Regions from separate parts of the Homo sapiens genome. Here regions 2, 3, 4, 5, 6 and 7 are each linked to region 1. Evidence: promoter capture Hi-C in 16 types of primary human blood cells and fetal thymus (Javierre and others, 2016). All regions are on one chromosome and are shown on one strand. The core of a region is centred on a gene start or on the middle of the fragment in contact, and the rest is flanking DNA. Distances in the headings are between cores, read along the strand shown. Region 1 holds the start of PTPRK-AS1 (PTPRK antisense RNA 1). Region 2 overlaps THEMIS (thymocyte selection associated). Region 3 overlaps PTPRK (protein tyrosine phosphatase receptor type K). Region 4 overlaps PTPRK (protein tyrosine phosphatase receptor type K). Region 5 overlaps PTPRK (protein tyrosine phosphatase receptor type K). Region 6 overlaps THEMIS (thymocyte selection associated). Region 7 overlaps PTPRK (protein tyrosine phosphatase receptor type K).

Region 1 (3,312 bases), core at 261-2,760:
TAAAGAAAAAATACAGTTGTAATAGCTACTTCCCAATAGCCAAAGGGTTGTATTTGAAAGAGGGATGAAAATCACTCCAGGTACCAAGAAAAACTACTGTGTGATCTGGGACAAGTTATCTGCTTTTTTTGAGACCCACTTTTCTCATCTTTACAATGAAATAACTAAATTCTGCTCTCTAGGCTTGTTCTGAAGATTACTGAATATACATTTAAAGTACCTAGAAGTATTTGACACATAGCAGGAACTTAATATACAATTACTGGTATTACTATTAAGGATTAAGAAAGCACTGGCATGCAACATATTATATATTTGACAAGATTACATCATCTTGAAAAAATATAAGAAGTATTCTTTTTGTATAGTACTTTAAGGAGGATATTATTCATTTTATATCATTTTCCTTCTCACTGTGATATGTAGAATATATCACACCAAAATTGTGGTTGACCCAACACTCCAACCAGTGTCCTATTTTATTCACTCTGTATTTCTTAATCTATTCAATAAATATTACTAAATCCATTTGCTGTGCTAGATGCTGAGGGAGGTGTGTGACACAGCCTGTAGTCTAGTAGGGGAGGTAGGCATTAAATAATTAACTCCAGTCAATTTCAGTGCTATATATGAAAAAGACAATTCACTCCTTTTTATGACTTGACTTACAGCTCACAGTGCCCAGAAAACTGGGATTCTTGATAGAATGCGCCACATATATCCTAATTAGCAACAATCACTAGTTTGGCCCCATAATGTACATACCTAACACACACTTTCACAGGCAAGAGAAGAAAATACCTATCATCATATTATGATCAAAGTATTTTGAAGTAAAAATACTTCCTCATTATTTCTTAGAATACTGCATACAGCAATTCCTTTAAAAGCAGACTCTACTAGCATGTTTCCCACTGAACAGAACTGTTTGTCCATTTAACCAAAAGGTATTTATTGCCCGGGAATTCATTAGTTCATTATTTGAAGAAATACGTATATTGGGCAAGAATGTAAATCAGGCTGTTTAGTTATCACATGAAAATGCATAAAACAGTACCCACATTCAAAGAGTTCAAAGAGTCCTTCAGGAAATCAGGTGCCTAAAAGTCAAACTGACCTTTAAAAAAAAAATGTTCATAGCTTCCTCTGTTAAATGAATGATCGTTTCAGAGCTTTCTAAATGCCAAACTCTTTTAATATATTATTTCAATTAGCTTTCACAAGCACTTATGAGGCTTGTTGTATGTTTTTTTTTTCCTTTGAGACAGAGTCTTGCTCTGTCACCGAGTCTGGAGTGCAGTGGAGCCATCTCAGGTTACTGCAACCTTCTCCTGGGTTCAAGCAATTCTCCTACCTCAGCCACCCGAGTAGCTGGGACTACAGGCGTGTGCCACTGTGCCTGACTAATTTTTGTTTTTAGTAGAGACGGGGTTTCACTCTGTTGGCCAAGTTGGTGCGTACTCCTGGCCTCAAGTGATCCGCCCACCTTGGCCTCCCAGAGTGCTGGGATTACAGGCATAAGCCACTGTGCCCAGCTGTATCTTCTTTTACCGATGAGGACACTGACAGGTTGGTATCACCTCTTTCCTAGTCTATATTGCAGCCACTCCCTTATTGAAGTTTCTGACTCCAAGTCCTACTCATCCTAATCTACCTGCAGCTTTTAAGGTGTCATTTTTCTAAAACTTAAATATGATCCTATCATTGTTCTTCTTAATAGCCTACAAAGATTTCAGGGAAAATGAAAATGACGAATATAAATTATACTGCACACACTATTTATAATAATATTTAGCCACTTAAAATTAAAACACATAAAAATGTGGGTAAAGCTCATGGTAAAATAGTAACTACAAATAATTACAAGTCACAATCTTTGCAATTATGAGAAATGTTTAAGTAAGCACCTGATAAAAAAAAGGAAAAAGCAAAAGTGATAACAGTTGCTTAGAATATTGTTTCAGAACACCTTTTAAGGTTACCACACTGTTTTAATTTTTAAAGTGGAAGAGAAAGTGCTTTAGCACTGTTGATAGCTGCCACCCTGCCCTCAAGATAAAGTGAATCTTGAGTCTTACAGCCCTTTCTCATATCTGTATCAACATACATTTTAGCCTAATTTCTTACTAACTCCTCAGTATATTCTTGAACACTGCATTAACTTTCATGTCTAACTGCAAACCTCTGCCCATGCTGTTACCAGTGTGGATATGGTCTCTGGTTTTTCTACCTATTTAAATGTCACTTTGTATGGAATTCTATTTCATGTTTAGGCACACTGCATGAAATTATTACTTCAACTATCAGGTTCTTTCACAATTCACAACTTCTTGAGAGCATGGAACATATCCTATGTATTTTTAGTATTTTCTCAATGCCTAGTGTAAGACATATGGCAGAGAGTAAGTGTGCAACAAAATTGTGTTAATATTCATATTTTTCATAAGTGAAAACAATTTTTTTGTTGATATGATGCTTTGATGGTTTCTGATTTAAGGTTAGGATGTTAAACGGACTCTATTTTTACATGACCATAATTCTACTCCCCAATTCTGTTCCTAAATCTTTAGTGAGCTAAGAATTCAGATTCATGGTAAGGTTAGAATTGTGCTGGACTGCTTGTGACTTCAACTATCCATCTTCCATGGTCAGTTCTTGATCAACTGATACAGTTTGGGTGTTTGTGCCCTCCAAATCTCATGCTGAGATGTATTCCCCAATGCTGGAGATGGGACTTGGTGGGAGGTTTTTGGTTTTGGGGGTTGGCTCTCTCACGAATGCCTTGGTGCCATCCTCACAGTAATGAGTGTTCTTGTGAGATCTGGTTGTTTAAAGAGTGTGGACCTTCCCTCTCCTGTCTCCCTCTCTTGCCAAGTGATACATGGTTCCCCTTCACCTTCTGCCATGATTGTAAGCTCCCTGAGGCCCTCACCAGAAGCAGATGCCAGCACTACGCTTCCTCTACAGCCTGCAGAACCATGAACCATTTAAACCTCTTCTCTTTATAAACTACCCAGTCTCTGACTGCATGCAGTGGCTCACACCTGTAATCCCAGCACTCTGGGAGGCTGAGGCAGGTGGATCATTTGAGTTCAAGACCAGCTTGGCTAACATGGTGAAACCCGATCACTACTAAAAATACAAAAATTAGCTGGACAGGGTGGCGGGCACCTGTAATCCGAGCTACTGGGGAGGCGAGGCAGAAAAATCACTTGAACCTAAGAAGCAGAGGTTGTAGTGCCAATGCACTCCAGCCTGGGTGACAGAGTGAGATTCCATCTCAAAATAATAATAATAATAATAATAATAATA
Region 2 (3,312 bases), core at 437-2,936, 240 kb before region 1:
CTCCTTATTCAAAAATCAGAGCCTTAAGAATACTACAAATATAGACCAAAAAAACCTAAGAATATCTTTAATGAAGTGACTCATTATATGAGTACTATGCTTAATATTATCATAAATAATATTAATAGCATTTAGAAAAGAGGGCAAAAGACTACTTATTTTTCATAATTAATTATTGTTAAATATTTTGAATTAGCCATTGTAATTACATATTATACCAATTTATGAAATTCCCATTTTCTTTTTCTGACAGGCTCAAGTTTGCTGACATTTAAGGCACTGAAAGTACCTCATCTTCTCATATGTACTCCCTCTTAGTAGGAGATCTTTTTAGGAAGCAGCTTTATTTATTATTAAAAGTTTGAATATTTTATAAAACATTAATGACTTTGATAGCTCTAGGTATTCAATAAGATATTTTGCACTATTTGCACCCTGGGACAATCCTCTCAAAAAGTGAAATTTTATAAACCACATGGATAAAAGTACATAAATAAATGTGGCATTCTTATTTTTCTCAGGTAACAGAAAGCAAAATTACCCTGTTCTAGCCTACATATTTGAACAGTAAGTAGAATCATAATATCTTCAACAGCTTGGCCATCTGTTATTGTTCCAAAAAGCTTCAGGGAATAGTCTGTGTAATGGAATGTAAAACATTATCAACTGCTATGGTCTGAAACGTTGTGAAATAGAATCTGTAAAACTTTGTAGCCAGATAAACCAATTCAGAAAAATAAAAAGTGAGCATAGAACCAAAATTTGGGAAAAATAAAAGGTAGGTTTGTTTATATCTAAACTTAAGTATTTAAAATGAATATACTGATACTGACAGCCAGTGTTGGTTGAGTATTCATTAGGTACCAAGTACTATTCTAAGTGGTTTTCTTGAATGAGCTTTCTTAAGCCTCACAACAATTCTCTAGGGCATGTTACTATGCTTGTTTTATGAACTAGAAAATTGAGAAAAAGGGAGATTAAATAATTTGCCCAAGACCAACAGTTAGAAATGGCAGGCTAAGGACTTCTGAAAATCTATTTCAGCATAAAGGCAATGACCACTAGCAAAATTTGTCAGAATCAACTTTTGCAGAACTCTAGAAATTAACGAAAAAGAAATCTTTTTTTTAAGAAAAGTGACTAAATCTTGATAAGAATGTGAGCTTTGTGACGTTTTGAATTGTCCTATAGCAATTCTTCTCAGCTGCATGACAGACTTGAAAACCAGCAGCCTTGCAATCACAGTAGCTGTGAGAAAAAGCAACTTTGCAACCACCAAAGAGGGGGACACTGGGTTTGGAGCTCCTAAAAAAACTCGATTCCAAGAGCATTGCCACTATGTTAGCTGTTAGGAATCTCCCTGAAAAAGCACCCTTTCTAGGATTTGTCTTTACTCAAGCTGACTCCCTACTGTCCCCAGGAAAAGCCATATCAAAGAATCAGCAGCAATTATTAACCATTGCATCTTCCAGAGGCTGTGATGCTAATTGTGGCAAACAGGAAGCAAGATATAGGGTTTTTTTTAATATATTCTAAATTTTCCCAACTTTCCTGTTTATCTTTGTCTCTTTCCTGCACTCTAGCATGCACATGTGTGCACGCACACACACACACACACACAAACACATGCACACATCACCTTCTTCCTTTAGCTGGAAAACTTGCATAGATCTACTCATGCACATAAAAGGCCTCAGATATCACTAGTCCACTAGGTCCGCCAAGATGAATCTAGTCTGCTCCTAGCTGACACTCTGCTGCACCCATGTCACCATGTTCTTTGCATGGCATCACCTTATCTTGATATGTTTCAAAGAAATTCAAACCTACCACTGGCACCAGGGAAATGCTTTTATCTCTCTATCTCAACTGTCCTGAAAGTATGTGTGTGTAAAGAACTCCATACTGTAAACATATTATTACTGGGATCTGTTTTTTGAATGTATCATAGAGAACACATGATATATACAATATCTTGATAAACGATACCATAAAATGATTCTCGTTTCTCATCATTACAAACATCAGCATGGCATGAGGTTAATAAAGGAATGACATCTGTATTATCTAAAATTAAGTCTACTAACTATATTTATAAGCTAAAAAGTCAGCCTGCCACAGTGATAGGTAGATAGATAGATAGATAGATAGATAGATAGATAGAGATAGACAGATATAGATAGATAGATAGATAGATAGATAGATATAGATAGATAGATAGATAGATAGATAGATAGATAGATAAATAGATGCTCTTCTGGTAATAAACACAAAGTGTCTAGATTAGAAAACAGATAGTTGAATATTCACAGAGCATCTTAGCACTGAGAAGGCTATGAGAGACTAATGTTATCCTGCACAGACAAGAGTTGAGTATACCACCATGGACTCACAAACTATGACACTTGGAGTTTGGCTGGCACATTGACCCATCCTTTCCTCAGGTGAGGGAGAGTCTTTTATTTTGCGATGTTAGCAAATGTTTACAGGGGAGACGTCTCTAAACCTCTCTGAAGCAACCTACTATCTCTATCTTCCAAGATACATTTGCTATTCAACCCTACTTTAACCAAGTTTGCCAGTGGTCTTTCCTCAAAAAGATTGGACTGTGTGGTAATCTGAAAATATTTCATGGAGAATTGCCTCTCAATAATCAAATCCAGGGATTGACACCAACCTAGTGACTTTCCCTGATTTACTCTACAGCTTTTGGTATTGAATAATGAAAGGTTGAGGGATGAATACAAAGGAAGCTTCTTATCCCACAGGAAAAAATTAAAATGCTTTATTTGCCAATATTGACATTTTCATTAAACAAATGAATGACATTCATAATTATTACCTTAATTAAAACTATCAGAACTTTTGAGAGTATTCATTTACGGACAGTAAGAAGGTACTCAATTGTATTTTCAGATTATAGTACTCTACTTGAAAATAAGTTATTTTAACATTTTAGCCCCATATATTTTCTTGAAAAGGCACAACAAAAATGATCACATCAGCAGAGATTATTTCTTTCATCATTAAAGAGGCAATACATTATTACAGTGTATAAATTCTACTCAGACAAGGCTATTTCATTTAATCCTCACTAACCCCTCCCTACTCTCCAGGAAGACAAAATATTACATAAATACAATGAACTTTATTTACCTTAATATAGTAAAAACATACCATAATCTCTGGGACACAGCTAAAGTAGTGTTTAGAGTGAAATTTATAGGACTAAATGCCCACAGGAGAAAGCAAGAAAGATGTAAAATCGACACCGTAACATCACAATTAAAAGAACTAGAGAAGCATGAGCAA
Region 3 (3,312 bases), core at 396-2,895, 250 kb after region 1:
CAAGCTCTTATGTTATAAACAATGCTGCAAATATTACTTATCTATGTTTGTTTACCTTTTTCTATGTGAAGCTGAGTGTTCAGAGCCCTGATATGTTAATCTATTTACATTTATTTGTTTGGCTCTGTTTTTGTTTATTTATCTATTTATAACCAACCGGCAAACTCCATAATGTTACATGGGAAGAGTAAAAGAAAGAGTTCAAGGGCCTGTGGCAAGATTTTCATTTGGGGTCTATTTGGCTCTAAAGAAAAAAGAGCTAATCAATTGCTAACTGAAGACAGTACAGTTTAGTTTTAATAATGGTTACAGTAATGAGAGGTTAAAAGGGTCAAAACACTGAACCAGGTGTTAAAGTTCTTAATGTTCGTATTTGGGAATATACATTAGACTACTCAACTCTATTTGAAGTTATACAGGGGATAAATATGGTTCCATTGAGTAGAGGTTCTAATACTTGTTTGAATGTTCTAAAATTAGTTGGTTGTTTTCACTCATAAAATCAGAAGGCTGGACAAAATACTTTCTAAGGTCCCTTTCAGTATTAATATTTCATAAAACTAAAAGGCAAACTGTACTTGATGAATTATGTCTGACTCATAAGGTTCTTTCAAAATTTAATGTCTTATTTTTCTTTGCCACATGATATATTTTTTGCCTTTTGTTTTTTGGCAAGTCATAACCCAACCATGCCTTTTAAATGGGGGTAATATATAAACCTTGCCTACTTTATAGACTTTTCCTATCAGTATGATGATATATGTAAACTTTAAAAAAAATTTTAAGTATGCACATAAGGTAACATTAACTATTTAATTAAATATTAAGTGATTCACTATTAAAATCATGTTAAAATAGGATGTCTTAACTATAAATGCCAATATACTAAATTATTCAACAACAAGAGCATAAGATTCTACTTGAGGCAACACATATAAAGTTTTATGGTATCTGTAAGTAATTTAAATACAAATTTCTTTATTTGTCTACTAATAGCATTTACCAGGCTATTTTATTTAAGAAAGCAGAAATATTGTCTTTGACCACAGAACAGAAGTTCAAAGAAAAAATCATTCTTTTCTCATTATCCTTTTCTACTGCAGATGTTTTGTATTTGTTTATTTAGATTCTGCCTCCATTCTAGAAAAGACTAAAGGAAGCTGAAAGGATATATTAACCACAAGAAAATTCCAGAAGTGTAAAACTGGACAGAAAGAAGAAAGAAAAATGGGAATAAAGCCATCAATTAGAGCCAGAAATAAAGCTCAAACATGTTTACCATAAACATTTATATATTTCTTATTAGAGAGCCATAAACTGGCTTTAAGCTTTCTGGCAATAAATGCAGCAAGCAGCTCCCAGTGTAATGTGATTCAGTAAAACAATTCCATTGGGAGGTAAACTGATTCTTCCTTGTGCCAGTCTCTGTAGATCTGGCTTGATTTGGGGATAGATTTTTAGAAAATGAAGAAACATAGAAGGAGTTGCGTATCTTTCAAATAATGTTCCCCAAATATTATTTCTCTAAGTTGTGGGCACCGATGAGTTCAAGACTATTCCCTGAAAAAGTATACAGCATAAAATTACTCAACAGTGGCATTTAAATTTTTTTCCATGTGTCTCAACAAACCCTAAATTTTAAGAAACTGTGTATATGAGATATATATACTCTTCCAAAAATTGAGGATTTGATCTTTAAAAAGACTTGACCATGTCCCAAAGGGCCTCCCCACTTTGTAGCATGCAATACCACAGGAGCACTAGCTTAGAAAAGTTTTTCTAAATCTCTAACTGAAAGACAATGAGTGACCTCTGCCTGAAGAATCTACTCCTTATAGCTTGGCACAACAGTGTCAGTCTGAAAGAAAAAAAAAAAAGTCTCACTAACATGAAAACAGCTGTCTACTCAAGTTCATATAGAAAGTAATTCAATAAAACAAACATTGAACGTTTAACTTGGAGCTAAGCTTATAAAAACTACCTATTAAGTATAAACCAAGGTAATTTGCAGAACGGGTCTTTTAAATAAAAGTCAGTCATAGTACATTGAACCAAATAAAATAACATTACTTGTACAAGTAGTTATCAATTCATGCTGCTGTTAGATTGAGATAAAATACGAAACTGTCATAAGAAAATGATTGTCTTTTGTCCTTTATTAGGGAACAGGCATGCAAGAGCTCTGTCAAAACACTGAGAATTAAGTTAAAGAGAAGAGAGGTCAGAAAATAATCATATGTTACTCTAATGCAATATGTGACCTGTTCTCCCAAAACAATATTCCTGCTGACCCTGACTCTCGAAACAGTAATACAGAGGCAGATTCTGAAAGGAGATCAATACCTGGGGTGGGAAGTCCATGTTGAGCTTTCATCTCCTGGCCAAAGAAGTGAAGGTTGGGGAAAGGACGCATATTAATTTATGTGAGGTTAGACTAACATTTTAACATGATTTATGAATCGACCTCAGCAAATGGCTTAGGTTTGAATAGCTGTCTTGAATTAATTCTAGTCTTCTAGTCCAAACAAAGAATATCCTAAGGTATGGAGAAAATTTGCAGAAGTACCTGGCCCATCTGAGGTACTTAAAACTGTTTGTTGAATGAGGGGCTGAATAATCTAATTTGCTATTTGCTAATACTGACAAAAATGGGCATGATATGAGAACATGAGAACAAATACAGTCCAAATATTTTTTAAATGGAATAAATTGAGTTTGTTTTAAAAGAAAAAACCTACAAATCAGTGTTTCCAAATTATTGGTGAAATTCTATTGACATTTTAAATGAATACTTTCTGGCTCTTTTCCCAAAAAAGCTAGTAGTACCATAAAAATAGGTAAAGGAAACAATGCAGGTGTTTTTGTGTTTTTTATTTATTTATTTATTTATTTATTTATTTATTTATTTATTTATTTATTTGAGACGGAGTCTCGCACTGTAGCCTGGGCTGGAGTGCAATGGCGTGATCTTAGCTTCTTGCAACCTCCGCTTCCTGGGTTCATGCGATTCTCCTGCCTCAGCCTCCCAAGTAGCTGGGATTACAGGTGCACACCACCACGCCCAGGTAATTTTTTGTATTTTTAGTAGAGACAGTGTTTCACTCTGTTTGCCAGACTGGTCTTGAAATCCCGACTTTGTGATCTGCCCACCTTGGCCTCCCAAAGTGCTGGGATTACAGGCGTGAGCCACTGCACCTGGCCAGGTCTTAATATGTCTACATTTCAATAAAGCATTTGAAAGAATCTCTCACCCTCCACTTATGGGCAAGGTGCAGAAATGAGAGCTGGATAATAACAAAGTAATGTCACTTT
Region 4 (3,312 bases), core at 440-2,939, 230 kb after region 1:
AAGCATGGATTTTTAGCAGTGCTTCCCAAATGCTTTTATATTATGAAAAACAAACAGGAGATGACAACAACTGTGTGGCACCTTGAAGTAAAAAGACAACTGTCATAGTTCCAGGCTCCACCCTATAGGCTAGGTTATCACACTACAAATTTTTCAACACCTGCAATACCACTGTCAGGGAACACCAGTATGCCACAGCTCAAAACCACTAAACTAAGAGTGAGAAATTGTCAGATTGGGACAGGTTGCTTAAAAATAGAATATGAAGAGGAAAGCTTTTCACAATAACCTAATTAAGGAAACCAAAACATTATGTATTATGATTCCACTGAATATCAAGTTTAATATGCACATGCACACACACATATATAATGTACATATATGCACATACATACATGCATATGTATGTGCCACCTGTCAAAATATTAGGAGTCATCTCTAGAAAGCAGAAGGTGAGATTATGGATTACTTTCATTTTCTGTGTATTTCTTCAATGATTTCGTTACTTACAGTAAGTTTGCACTGGTTAAGTAACACGAATAGAGAGAGGCAAAAAATTTCAAGTATGTTTTAGAAGTATAATTCAGTGTGTGTTCAATTTTCATTCTTTTATGTGAAAATCATAAATCCCTAGGAAAGGGCCATAAAAATTCTAAGTATACTACCTTTCTAGCAGTTGAAGATATAACTTAAAACATTCTTTCCTTTTCATTTAAAGAAAGTTAAAAGGAAACTAAAAAAATGTGACTTCCTTCTGTAACATAAGAACCCTTCCACACAACTGCTTTCATTTTCCAGTCCATAACATATGTAAAGCAAACGTACAACATGGACGTAATTTCATAGGAAAGGCCTTAAACTATATAGACCCAATTAACAGTAGTCATCTTGGGGGAGAAATTGAATGAAATGGGTGAAATGAGTTTCACTTTTCATTTTACTGATGTCTGTATTTGAATATTTATAAGTATTTATCAAAATATAATTGCATAATTTAGAAAATCTTTTTTTAGACCTATAGAGTATATTATTCTCTGGATTACACTTCTGATGACATGGCTTCCTAAAATATATTTTTTTTTATTCTATTTTTTAAAAGATTGGATTTCATTCTAAATGTAACAGAACAGGCTTATAGCAGAGGAGTGACATAATCTGAATTATGATCTGAAGAAGTTTGTTTTGATGACTGTGAGAAGTGGTTTGTGGGAGACCAAGATCCAGAAGCAGAGACAATGTTAAGGAGACCACTGCAGTTGTTGAAGGAAAAGATGACGGCATTAACCCTGAGGATGCCCAAAAATAAAATAGAGAAGATGGCCTTTATCATTGCTACCCACAATATCTAGCATAGCAAATGGCATGTAGTAAGCCTCCTATAAAGAGGTATTCGGGTAAGAAAGTTAGGAAGAGAGGCCAGCCATCCAGAAGGCTGGGATGGAGATTACCGCTTTTCTAATTGGAGCTGGAGAAGCGAAACATGTTTCTTGAAGATGCTTGTATAATGTCCATTTATGAAAGCAGTTTCCTAATCTCCTAATAAATAAAAGACTCATATAACCACTACCACAACAAATTTGGAAGCAGGGACAACAAAAATTATTTCAAAACAAGCTTAGTTCTCCGTTCAACTCCAGTATTTAAGCATGTGGTCCCTGAACTTTCATGTACATTCACTGAACTTTCATGTACATTAGAAGATGCTGCAAAAATATAGGAAGTTGTAGTAAGTTACTTTAAAGACACCTAAAAAATACTGCTTTAGCAAGCTTAACATTTAATGATATAGTTGTCCTCTAAGATCTGAAAATAAAAATTTAAATTGCAAAACAAACATGCATTTTCTTAGTTTTTCCATCTCTTTTTATGTATAGGCTGAGGTCTCTACTTAGTATTTCATCCTGAGCTTATATAGCAATAGTTTCTGTTTTACCCCTCTTGATCTGTCAATCTATCAAGCCTCTAAACTTCATTTTCTATTTTACCCATCCAAATTTAAATTCCATGTTGTCTTTATTTATTTTATATTCCAAGCTCAGTGCTCCAAATAAAACTTTCAAAAAAGAAAAACCCATCAATTTTTGTTCAAACATATTAGATGATTCATTGTTGTATTTCTTTTGGTTCATATGATTAAAGATGTAAAAGCAGAAATCAATACTTATACAGATTTTTCAATAGTTATATGGATTTAAAATTTGAGAATAATGTTCTAGAGGGCAAAAGATGTTAAAAACACTATAACAAAAAACAGCAAATTTTCCAAACTAGCACTTAAGATATTTTATTACATAATATGGTGAAACACTACATTGTACATTGACAGGTATATTTTATTATAATTTCTTTATGAAATCCATTGTCTCCAAACTTGAATTAGCAAAATGTTTGTAACACAGTAAAAACTAGCCAGATGTCTATAGTTATTACAGGGGAAGTACTGTGTGCAGAGCTTCAGTCTAGAGCAAAACTGTCCAGCAAAATTGTCTGCCACAAGAAAAATGTTCTGTATCTGTCTACATAGTAGCCACTAACCAGCCACCTGCAGGCATCAAGCACTTAAAATGTGGATAGTGCAAATGAATAAATACATTTTTAATTTTAATTTTAATAATTGCATCTGGCTAGTGACTAGCTCATTGAACAGCAGAACTTTTAAATATGAATTTTGACAAATTTGGGCAATAGCTTTTGGAGCTATATTAACAGTTAAAAGCAAAAAGAAGCAACTGGTGGGTCAAGCAAACTTTCATATAAGACACAAATTCCACAAGAATCAAGAATATAGGCTCTACTCTTAAGCACAGCATCAAGTTGGGCCCTTACATGGTGGGCTAATTATTTCATGGCACCAACAAGCAAGAATGACATGATTATGCCTAGAATCCAATACCAGGAGTTACTCAGCCTGAGAAAACTCTCCACATGTGCAAATGACAAAACTGATCAAGTGTGCTTTATGTGGATCAGGCAATGCTGTATGGCTTGGTATTACAGTCAAATATTACTTTCCAGGTTTGGATTCATCCCAATTTTATGGATGACAAATTAAGCAGCATAGTGAAAGTTAAACTGCAACTCAAAACTGTTGATACACCAATTTTATGTAGTTTCCAACCTGTTTTCTCCCTAGGTTTAAAATGTGAGACAGCCTCAATATTAAATTATTGAAACCAAATAAGTTCATAGAAGCAAAAATATATTATGCACTATACTCTCTTAAAAAAGGATTTTTTATCTCAAGAGAATCACACTGACAGACTTAATATGTAATCATTGATCTTCAATATCTGTTATCTTATCCTAAATTTT
Region 5 (3,312 bases), core at 400-2,899, 200 kb after region 1:
AAAGAATCAGGAGCAAATTTGGAGAGGTGCCCACTAAGCAAATATGGGACGATTTAAGATTTAATAGAAATAATAATTGCAACAAATTAAACTCCATTAAATATATTTAAATCCATGAGTGTATAATGATATTAAAAGAAAAAAAGAGTAAGTCATCTTTGCAGGATGATAGGGAACCAACTCATTTTAAACTAGTAAATATAGCAAAGATTGGAGCATGTATTTTCCCTTTCCTTAATGAATTGTGTTATTGGGTAACCAAATAGTAGATTAGGGGGAGTATGTATCTTTTCATCAACTAAACAAATACAAAAGAAATAAGACACACAAAAAAATGATAGAATATCACAGTTTTCTACCCCCAGGAATAAATATAGGCATTAATCATCAGAGACTGACAAGATCACAAAAAGAAAGATGACACATTTTGTTCCTCCTGTTATTATACCAAACACCACCTATGGTGTTGCCAAAGGATCAAACTTGACCCTGGATCTGGCTGCCAAGTTGCAGGAAATGGAGAGGAAAGAGGGACATGTGGAACTGAAGAGGGCATTAGTATGCAATCAGCAAAATGTGGACAGGGGAAGCTAGAAGTCAAACATCCTAGGCTCAACAGATAAATTGCGAGGAAAGGAATAAAGGACAAACCTACAGATTAAAAGTGACTTAAAAAGATGTCTAATTTTAAAAACTGGTAAGACTATGGTGTCTAGGGATGCATATATAACTGCAAAAAAACTACAAGGGTTAAAATTCATGAGAGTGGTTATTTGTAGAGGCAGGGAGACAGCTCTGTTATGCCTGGCACAGAGCACATGGACGGCACCTCTGGGATGGCTGGCAAGCTCTCTTTCTTGTCCTGTGTGATGTTTACCCGATATTGAGTCACAATAGTTTTTATTTTTGTGTGGTATTCTATACCTACGTTTTATTTTACAATAAAATAATTTTGTAAATTTTAGATCTTTCTAGCAGACTACTTTTCATAAAGAAGAAACCAGGCCTGCCAGTGATCCATGTTGTAATACTGATCCCAGGAGCTCAATGGGAAAGTTACAAAGTGCTTGACGTGACACACCTAGAAACACACTGAAGGGGCAGCTCTGCAAACAGGAGAGCATATTGTTCTTGCACAGAAAGAGAAGTAAATTATTTCTAGATATCGATAAAAAGCAATCCTTGAACTTCCATGACTGCCAGGCTTGTATAGTCCTGTTCCAAGAATAGATAAGGAAGGTAAAGAATATTATACGCATTATTCATTTATGATCAGTTATGTAATCTGTAAACATTAAATTCAGAGTTTATAAATTATTAAAGAAGGAAAAGAAAGCTTTATATCTGCAAGGCATTGATCTCTTTACGGTAGGAAGCCACATAAAATCAACCAAAATGACTTCAGGAGTATTTAACAATTCTAAAAAGTAAATATGATTAAACTTTCTGATGCTCATCATTACATATCCAAAATGCCAGAAAGCAGAAGAAAAACCTTATAATCCATGATATGAGATCGGTGACTTTATCTCAAGACCTATAAGCAGAATTCTTTATATAAAGCTATGCAGAAAGAAGATAATGCTGTGAATTAGAATATACCAATGGCCCAATGAAAAGCAGGACTGCCGAGTGTTGGCTCTTAGCTACGAAAGAGAACACGGTCTCTTAAGTGGATCAGAATTAACTGTAAACCAGTGTATACATGGCAAAATCACTACTGCTTAGACAAAAGCAGAGAAAATTAGAATTAAATAGCAAGCTACTATTCATCTATCAGCTAAAGTTTAGAGCAGGTGACAAGAAACTAGGAAAGCACAAGGGACATGGTTTGCACTCCTCACACTCCTGTCTTGTGAGCCAGAAGTTACAGAAGCAGCCAAGGTTGAAGGCACCAACAGTTTTCCCATAGATTAATTCTCCTCAGTGACACCTGGGCCACTCAGAGGTTTAAGTTGGCGACAAGCTTCAAATTGTCTTGGTAAACTTTTATTAAAGCTAGAAAGAGTCAAAAGGAATTGAAATGTCTCCTCATTTTTCACTCCTACTGAGGAACACTTACATGAAATTATGAAGGTAGAAAGAGGTAAAAAGTAAAACAATGGTTCTAATAGACAAATGCGCTCCAAAACTAGAAATTGAAAAAACAAACTCATTGACTGTCTTTTAAAAATAAACTCTGAGAAAATGTACAAAGCTGTCTATATTACTTCACTCTCACATCTTCTCAAATTCTATAAAATGGTGCAAACCAGGCCCAAAATCGTTTTGTTTCTTAATTTGTCCTCTCCTTTGCTACTCATGGATCTTCCAATGCCAATGGCGCTGTCCGGAATCAGGCCCTCATTCCCTGATGACTGTACTGAGAACAGAAGCCTCTTCCTCTTCCAGCAGTCTCCACCGTGGTCTAGTACCAACTTTTCCATAAATTCTATTTACCTCCACTCCTCATGGTGAACCTTCCACTTCAGTAAGATCCTTCTCCTTCGGTTCCTATCCCACGTCCCCACACATACACACGACGTGCTTTCTGCCTTCTGAATCTGCAGTAGTAACCATGCCCACTTTTGCTTATTCAAGTACTATGTACACTTCAAGGTTTCAATCAAGTCTTCTCTAATGATTTCACCAAATACTCCAGTCCGCGTTGCTCACGCTTATCTCTGAAACAGTACAGTCCTTAGACTCTATACAGACTTCCCATACACAGTTATAGAATCACATGTCAGGGCAAAAAGTATCTTAAAAAGTAGTTAACCTCAGGCTCAAATGTCTTCTACATCTCTAGCATATGCTTACCCAGATTATGCTTGGATACTTGGACTAATTGTAATTTTACTACCTCCTGGAGCAGCTCATTGTAGTTTTCAACAGCCCTACAATTACAAAGTTCTCCCTTATAATCAGCTTATAGCTCTCACCATAAGCTTCAAATCATGTCATTATTATACTTTAGGATCTATAAGGAGGAAATTAAATCCATTTGTATATTCCTTACATTACAAGGTAGTAAATAAGTCACTTACCTAATCTTCTACAAATCTCAAGATATATTTGTGCCATGTGCCTTTAGCAATTCTGACATCATTGTTCAAGTTTACTCACTGTTTTGGTACTTATATGCTACTGTTTGTTATTTTAATATTTCAGAAGTGTGTCAGCCATTCTTAAAGTCTTTTACCTAGAAAATGTCAGAACTTTGACCACGTCCAGACATTAGAGCAACTTTTATTATATTGCATTGCATTGTTTTTTCTTTATGCATGTTACCTAGCGTGAGCTGATCACATATTATGTATTTAATCAAGTTGA
Region 6 (3,312 bases), core at 609-3,108, 190 kb before region 1:
GCTTTAAACATTATAAAGGCTCTTTTCTCAGCACAGTACTGGTTCCAGGATGGCAGAACCAAGACTAAATGTACCTGTGTCATCAATAATTATCTCTGTACATGCATAAGATGTAGATGGAATTCAAAATATATTACATGTATTTTCAAAGAAGCTACTCAATCTATTACAAAATTTATTTTCAGGAAGGATACACTCCTCAGTTAGGTTTAAGAGTGACCCTTTGACAATATTTTTCCCAACTTCATAAATGCAAAAGCTTAGATACCTATATAGGTGGAAAAGTTGTTATTGTGTTAGTACAAACTAATTTCTACACAATTATAAACCATTTGAATTTCTTCTAAGCTTTGTCCATTTTCCTATTAGTGTTCTACTAGAATATTTATTGATTTTTCTGTTTTCCATTTCAGTGACATTTAGTCTTTTAAAAATTGAGTTATCTTCCTTTGCTATTAAACATTTCTTCCTCATTTTTTTACTTTATGACAGAAAGTTTCATTTTATGTATTCAAATATATTGTTTCCTTATGGTTTTCTATTATATTTGCAACTTGAAAGTTGTTTCAAATATAGACATAAGATAGTTTTCCTTAAAATGTGATGTTTTCATCTATTTCAAATTTCTTTTGCTATGGTATAATGTTGATGATCCAATTTGATCTACTGTTTGCTACATTATTAACTATACTAGAACAATTTACTAAATAATTCTTCCTTTAAACCCAGATGTGCAGTAAAAACTTTATCAAACAGCAAATAATACTCTGCATTAAAGTCTGTTTCTGAGCTATAAACAAATGCTTAAGTGCATGGCACTAGAGTCAAATTAAAAACATTGCTGTGACGCTTCTATAACAACTAGTACCACTATTGTAAAAGTAATTTATTGATGCAGTTTTTGATTTTCTGTAAGCAACATATAGTACCATTTATTATAACTTTGTATCAGACATTAATGTTGGCAGGACAAGTACTCCCTCATTATCCTATTTTTAAAATATTTGCTTGAATATGTTCACTTGTTTATTCTCCCAAGTGATTTTTACAATTACTCTCTCAAGAGGCAACATAGTAATAATTATGATTATAATATGGAAATTTTATTCTGCATTATGTTGAACATAAATTAATTCATATGTAATTGATATATTTATAATATTCAGTTTTCTGATTCAAGCACGTCTATTTTTTAATAAATAAGTAAACTTGTATAATACTTTTTAAGTAAATAAATGAGTTAGTTATAAAATATGTTACCCCTATATATTCTAAGTGTTTATAAATGGAAAATTATAACTATATGTATTCTTATATGTAAGAATATATTCCTTTATGTACATACAGTTGTTTTACATATTTGTTCATCTTGTCATCTTACCAAGTTTCAATATTTTGTCTCATTTGATACTCTGTTTTACAGGGTAATGTTACTATTTGCAAATAATGATTACCACCTCTTTTTTTAATTTTCAATTTGTTTGAGATGGAGTCTTGCTTTCACCCAGGCTGGAGTGTAGTGGTGGAGTCACAGATCACTGCGGCCTCGAACTCCTGGGTTCATGCCATCCTCCCACCTAAGCCTTTCAAAGAGCTGGGATTACAGGCATGAGCCACTATGCCCAGCCAATTAACAACTCATTTCTAAAAGTCTTTTAATTCATTAATTTCTGGCCATATTTACTTACTCGCAATTCTAGAAAGAAGTTAAATAGGTCAAAACAAACACCCTTATAAGAACAACTCTTCCCTTGCATGACTCACCTAAGCACTGCACATCTTGGTTCCCCTACCTGACTACAGGGCATCGTTGACAGTGTGACCCTCTGCCAGGTCTGTCAGGCCCTGCCATTTTCAAGGATGTTGAAGATTTAAAATTTCATGTTTCTAAAAAAATGGAGACAGGGACACTAAAAGCCATTAAATTGTATATTTTAATCAGGTGAATGTTGTTATGTGGAAATTGTTATAATGCTATTAACTCAAAAAAATGAGATGGGAAAGACAAACAGTTAAGTCACACCCTCAAAAAAGCAGTTAGATTGGCCCCCTCAAAAGTTCCTAGTTGGAATGCAAATTAGCAGAGCCTTTATGAAATGTGATTGACAATATGTATCAGATCTTTAAAAACATTTTTACTTCTATGTATATAAGATTATTATAATAATCAGAAATGCAGACAAAATGTTAGTTTAAAAGGCTGTTCATCACAGTACAAATTGTATAAATGGCCATGTTCAGGATGGATTGAATACATTATGGAATATGCATGTGAGGGACTATTACCTAGAAAATAAAAATTATGCCTTGAAGAATATTTAATGACACAGGCAAGTCCTCAGAATAAGATTTTTTCCCATTATGCTAAAACATGTGTCTATATGTATGCATGTGTACAATGTACTGGAAAACAACAGAAACAAATGTATCTAATATTAATGCTAGATGAGTCTGGTGATGATATTATAGTGAGTTTTATTTACTTTCCTGAATTTTCTCCCATTTTCTAATTTTCTACAACATGCATGTGTTACTTGTAAAACAGAAAAATAAATACATCTTATAGCTTTAAAAACTCGGGTTCTTTATCTTCACACAAAATCCTGCACATGAATGTTTATAGCAGCCTTATTCGTAATTGCCAAGGCTTGGAAGTAATAACTATGCCCTTCAGTAGGTGAATGGATAAACTGTGGTACATCCAGACAATGAAATATTACTCAGCACTAAAAATAAATGACTTATTACATCATGAAAAGCCATGTAAGAACCTTAAATATGTATTAGTAGGTGAAAGAAGTCAATCTTTAAAGGCTACATACTATATGATTCCAACTATATGACGCTCTGAAAAAGGCAAAATATGGAGACAGGAAAAGGATCAGTGGTTACCACGGATTAGAGGAGAGAGGGGAATGAGTAGGCGGAGCACAAAGGATTTTTAGGGTGGTGAAACTATTTTGTATGACACTATCAAAGTGGATATGTGTCATTCTACATTTATCAAAACCCATAGAATGTACAACACCAAAAATGAACCCAAATATAAACTGTGAACTTTGAGTGAAGATGATGTGTCAATGAAGGTTCACTACTTGCAACAAATGTACCACTCTAGTGTTGTACATTGATGGTGGGGGAGGCTGCCATATATGGCATGTTGGGGGTCAGGAAGTATAGGGAAACTCTGCTTGCATTCCAGTGGCAAAACCTCTAAATCCCCAAAATGTAACTGTGTATAATTATAGAAATGTTCTCTACCAACGTTCAGTTAAGATGCAAGAAACAGAAGATCCAATTGTTTAAGGGCAA
Region 7 (3,312 bases), core at 232-2,731, 180 kb after region 1:
CATATATGACAAACCCACAGGCAAAATCGGCAATATCATGCTGATTGGGCAAAAGCTGGAAGCATTCCCCTTGAAAACCAGTACAAGACAAGGACGTCATCTCTCACCACTCCTATTCAACATAGTATTGAAAGTTCTGGCCAGGGCAATCAGGCAAGACAAAGAAATAAAGAGTATTTGAATAGGAAGAGAGGAAGTTGAATTATCTTTATTTGCAGATGACATGATCCTATACCTAGAAAACCCCATCACCTCAGCCTAAAAGCTTCTTAAGCTGATAAGCAACTTCAGCAAAGTCTCAGGATAATCAATGTGAAAAAATTGCTAGCAGTCCTATACCCCAACAAGAGGCAAGCACAGAGCCAAATTCTGAGTAAACTCCCATTCACAATTGCTACAAAGAGAATAAAATGCCTAGAAATACAGCTAACAAGGGAAGTGGAAGACCTCTTCAAGGAAAACTACAAACCACTCCTCCAAGAAATCAGAGAGGACACAAACAAATGGGAAACATTCCATGCTCATGGACAGGAAGAATCAATGTCATGAAAATGGCCATACTGCCTAAAGTAATTTATAGATTCAATAGCATTCCCATTAGACTACTATTGATGTTCCTCATAAAATTAGAAAAAAACTATTTTAAAATTCATATGGAACCAAAAAAGATCCTAAATAGCCAAGACAATCCAAAGCAAAATGAACAAAGCTGGAGGCATCATACTACCCAACTTCTAGCTACAGTATAAGGCTACAGTAACCAAAACAGCATAGTATTGATACAAGAACAAACACATAGACCAGTGGAACAGAATAGAGAATTCAAAAATAAGACTATCCACCTACAACCATCTGATCTTTGACAAACCTGAAAAAACAAGCAATGGGGAGAGGATTCCCTATTTAATAAATGGTGCTGGGAGAACTGGCTAGCCAAATGCAGAAAATTGAAACTGGACCCCTTCCTTAAAACATATACAAAAATTAACCCAAGATGATTAAAGACTTAAATGTAAAACTCAAAACTATAAAAAGCCTAGAAGGAAATCTAGGCAATACCATTCAGGACATAGGCATGGATAAAGATTTCATGATGAAGACACCAAAAGAAATCTCAACAAAAGCAAAAATTGACAAATGGGATCTAACGAAAGAACTTCTGCACAGCAAAAGAAATTAACATCAGAGTGAACAAACAACCTACAAAATGGGAGAAAATTTTTGCAATCTATCCATCTGACAAAAGTCTAATATCCAGAGTTTATAAGGAACTTAAGCGAATTTACAAGAAGAAAACAACTCCATTAAAAAGTAGGCAAAGGACATGAACAGACATTTCTCAAAAGAAGACATATAGGCAGCCAACAAACATGAAAAAAAAAAAAGATCAACATCACTGATCATTAGAGTAATGCAAATCAAAACCACAAAGAGATACCATCTCATATCAGTCAGAATGGTGATTATCGAAGAGTCAAAAACAACAGATGCTGGCAAGGGTGTGGAGAAAAAGGAATGCTTATAAACTGTTGGAATGTAAATTAGCTCAACCCTTGCGGAAGACAGTGTGGCAATTCCTCAGAGACCTAGAGGCAGAAATACCATTTGACCCAGAAATCCCTCTACTGGGTATATACCCAAAAGAATGGAATCATTCTTTTATAAAGATACATGCATGTGTGTGTTCATTGCAGCACTATTCGCAATAGCAAAGACATGCAATCAACCTAGATGCCCATAAATGACCCACTGGATAAAGAAAATGTGGTACATGTATACCATGAAATACCATGCAACCATACAAAGGAATTGGACCATGTCCTTTGCAGGGACATGGAGAGACTTGGAAGCTATTATCCTCAGCAAACTAATGCAAGAACAGAAAACCAAACACCACATTCCGCACTTATAAGTGATAGCTGAATAATGAGAACACATGGATACATGGAGGGGAACAACACACACTGGGGCCTGTTGGATGGAAGTATGCGGGGGAGGGAGAGCATCAGGAAGAGCGGCTAATGGATTCTGAGCTTAATACCTAGGTGATGGGACAATCTGTGCAGCAAACCACCATGGGACACATTTATGTATGTAACAAACCTGCACATCCTGCACATGTACCCCTGAACTTAAAAGTTGAAGAAAAACAAAAGGAAAGAAAGTGAAGAAATTTCAAGAAAAGGCCAGGCGTGGTGGCTCACGCCTATAATCCCAGCATTTTGGGAGGCTAAGATGGGTGGATCACCATCTTAGGATGGTGTTTGAGGTCCAGGTCAGGAGTTTGAGACCAAACATGGCCAATATGGCGAAACCCCATCTCTATTAAAAATACACAAAAATTGGGAGTGGTGGGGGGCACCTGTAATCCCAGTTACTTGAGAGGTGGAGGCAGGAGAGTTGCTCGAACCTGGGAGGCAGAGGTTCTAGTGAGCCAAGATTGTGCCACTGAACTCTAGCCTGGACAACACAGTGAGAATCTGCATCACAGACCAAAAAAAAAAAAAAAAAAAAAAAAAAAATTCAAGTTAAAAAATATAAGAGTGGGAGAAAATGTCCCTAGGGACATGCCCTGCTTATTGACATATTTCATTCAAAAGATAAGTCACATTTCCAGATAACTTCTTATTTTCCATATAGTTGTTAGTAACTGAATCTGGAATAGACTTTCTTAGTTAGAAATACAAAAACATAAACAGAAGCTTTATTTGCTTCTTGGACCCTCATGGAAAGAGGCTGGTGGAGAAAAAAGAAATTATGTTATAATTTGAAAACTAGATATTACCATAGTTACATATGGCACTATAACCCCCTAAAGAGTATGCATCTTAGTCATTTTATTAGCAATAAATCCAATAATTAACACATGGTGATCCTCAAATATGTTAATCAAATCAATGAATATATAGGGTTTTTATGTCAATAATAAAATATTATTATTTAAAGTGACTTAAAGAGAAGGTAAAGAGAAAAAAGTCTGGTGATATTTAAAACAAACTCTTTTATTTTAGTATATCAGAAACATATTATAAGAATCAAAGAGAACACACAGATTCAGCAAGAAGGCACACTTCCATCACCCAGCAGAAAGATACATGCTGCTAATAATAAAGGGTGTTCATTAAAAAAAAAAAAAAAAAAAATCAGAGTGTCTTACACTGTTCCTAAGCCATTCAGTCAAGGCACTGGTAACAACAAAACACTTTATTCTCAGTATAAAAAAAGGATTATCAGTATTAATTGTTAAAACTCGCTGTAGATAAACTAGATACTTAAAAATATATAGGCAGATAAGGCAAGAAAATAGAAAAT

Evidence for each region. The method cuts DNA at HindIII sites, captures the fragments that hold promoters and counts their contacts. A CHiCAGO score of 5 or more calls a contact.
Region 2: a contact is called between a fragment that was not itself captured here and the fragment with the promoter of PTPRK-AS1 in region 1, in 2 of 17 cell types (total CD8 T cells and naive CD8 T cells). The highest score is 7.4, in total CD8 T cells.
Region 3: a fragment that was not itself captured here is called in contact with the fragment with the promoter of PTPRK-AS1 in region 1 in 4 of 17 cell types (fetal thymus, M2 macrophages, non-activated CD4 T cells and 1 more); the score reaches 6.7 in fetal thymus.
Region 4: a fragment that was not itself captured here is called in contact with the fragment with the promoter of PTPRK-AS1 in region 1 in 8 of 17 cell types (total CD8 T cells, non-activated CD4 T cells, total CD4 T cells and 5 more); the score reaches 9.0 in total CD8 T cells.
Region 5: a contact is called between a fragment that was not itself captured here and the fragment with the promoter of PTPRK-AS1 in region 1, in 1 of 17 cell types (fetal thymus). The highest score is 5.8, in fetal thymus.
Region 6: a contact is called between a fragment that was not itself captured here and the fragment with the promoter of PTPRK-AS1 in region 1, in 4 of 17 cell types (naive CD8 T cells, total CD8 T cells, non-activated CD4 T cells and 1 more). The highest score is 7.4, in naive CD8 T cells.
Region 7: a fragment that was not itself captured here is called in contact with the fragment with the promoter of PTPRK-AS1 in region 1 in 1 of 17 cell types (M2 macrophages); the score reaches 5.6 in M2 macrophages.

What each region holds. Positions count from the first base shown.
Region 1 is chr6:128,026,355-128,029,666 of GRCh38, forward strand. PTPRK-AS1 (PTPRK antisense RNA 1) reads left to right here and starts at 1,511. Exons shown (of 5, transcript NR_125849.1): 1 at 1,511-1,569. All of the region lies in intron 13 of PTPRK (protein tyrosine phosphatase receptor type K), which reads right to left. The HindIII fragment of the contact is 8,791 bases long and covers 1-3,312 here.
Region 2 is chr6:127,785,676-127,788,987 of GRCh38, forward strand. The region is part of intron 4 of THEMIS (thymocyte selection associated); the gene reads right to left. Among named protein-coding and RNA genes, the nearest start is that of THEMIS, 110 kb to the right of the region's middle. The HindIII fragment of the contact is 2,130 bases long and covers 622-2,751 here.
Region 3 is chr6:128,275,255-128,278,566 of GRCh38, forward strand. All of the region lies in intron 3 of PTPRK (protein tyrosine phosphatase receptor type K), which reads right to left. Among named protein-coding and RNA genes, the nearest start is that of PTPRK, 240 kb to the right of the region's middle. The HindIII fragment of the contact is 639 bases long and covers 1,327-1,965 here.
Region 4 is chr6:128,259,109-128,262,420 of GRCh38, forward strand. All of the region lies in intron 3 of PTPRK (protein tyrosine phosphatase receptor type K), which reads right to left. Among named protein-coding and RNA genes, the nearest start is that of PTPRK-AS1, 230 kb to the left of the region's middle. The HindIII fragment of the contact is 155 bases long and covers 1,613-1,767 here.
Region 5 is chr6:128,229,651-128,232,962 of GRCh38, forward strand. All of the region lies in intron 5 of PTPRK (protein tyrosine phosphatase receptor type K), which reads right to left. Among named protein-coding and RNA genes, the nearest start is that of PTPRK-AS1, 200 kb to the left of the region's middle. The HindIII fragment of the contact is 630 bases long and covers 1,335-1,964 here.
Region 6 is chr6:127,838,040-127,841,351 of GRCh38, forward strand. All of the region lies in intron 2 of THEMIS (thymocyte selection associated), which reads right to left. Among named protein-coding and RNA genes, the nearest start is that of THEMIS, 61 kb to the right of the region's middle. The HindIII fragment of the contact is 3,024 bases long and covers 347-3,312 here.
Region 7 is chr6:128,203,284-128,206,595 of GRCh38, forward strand. The region is part of intron 6 of PTPRK (protein tyrosine phosphatase receptor type K); the gene reads right to left. Among named protein-coding and RNA genes, the nearest start is that of PTPRK-AS1, 180 kb to the left of the region's middle. The HindIII fragment of the contact is 2,437 bases long and covers 264-2,700 here.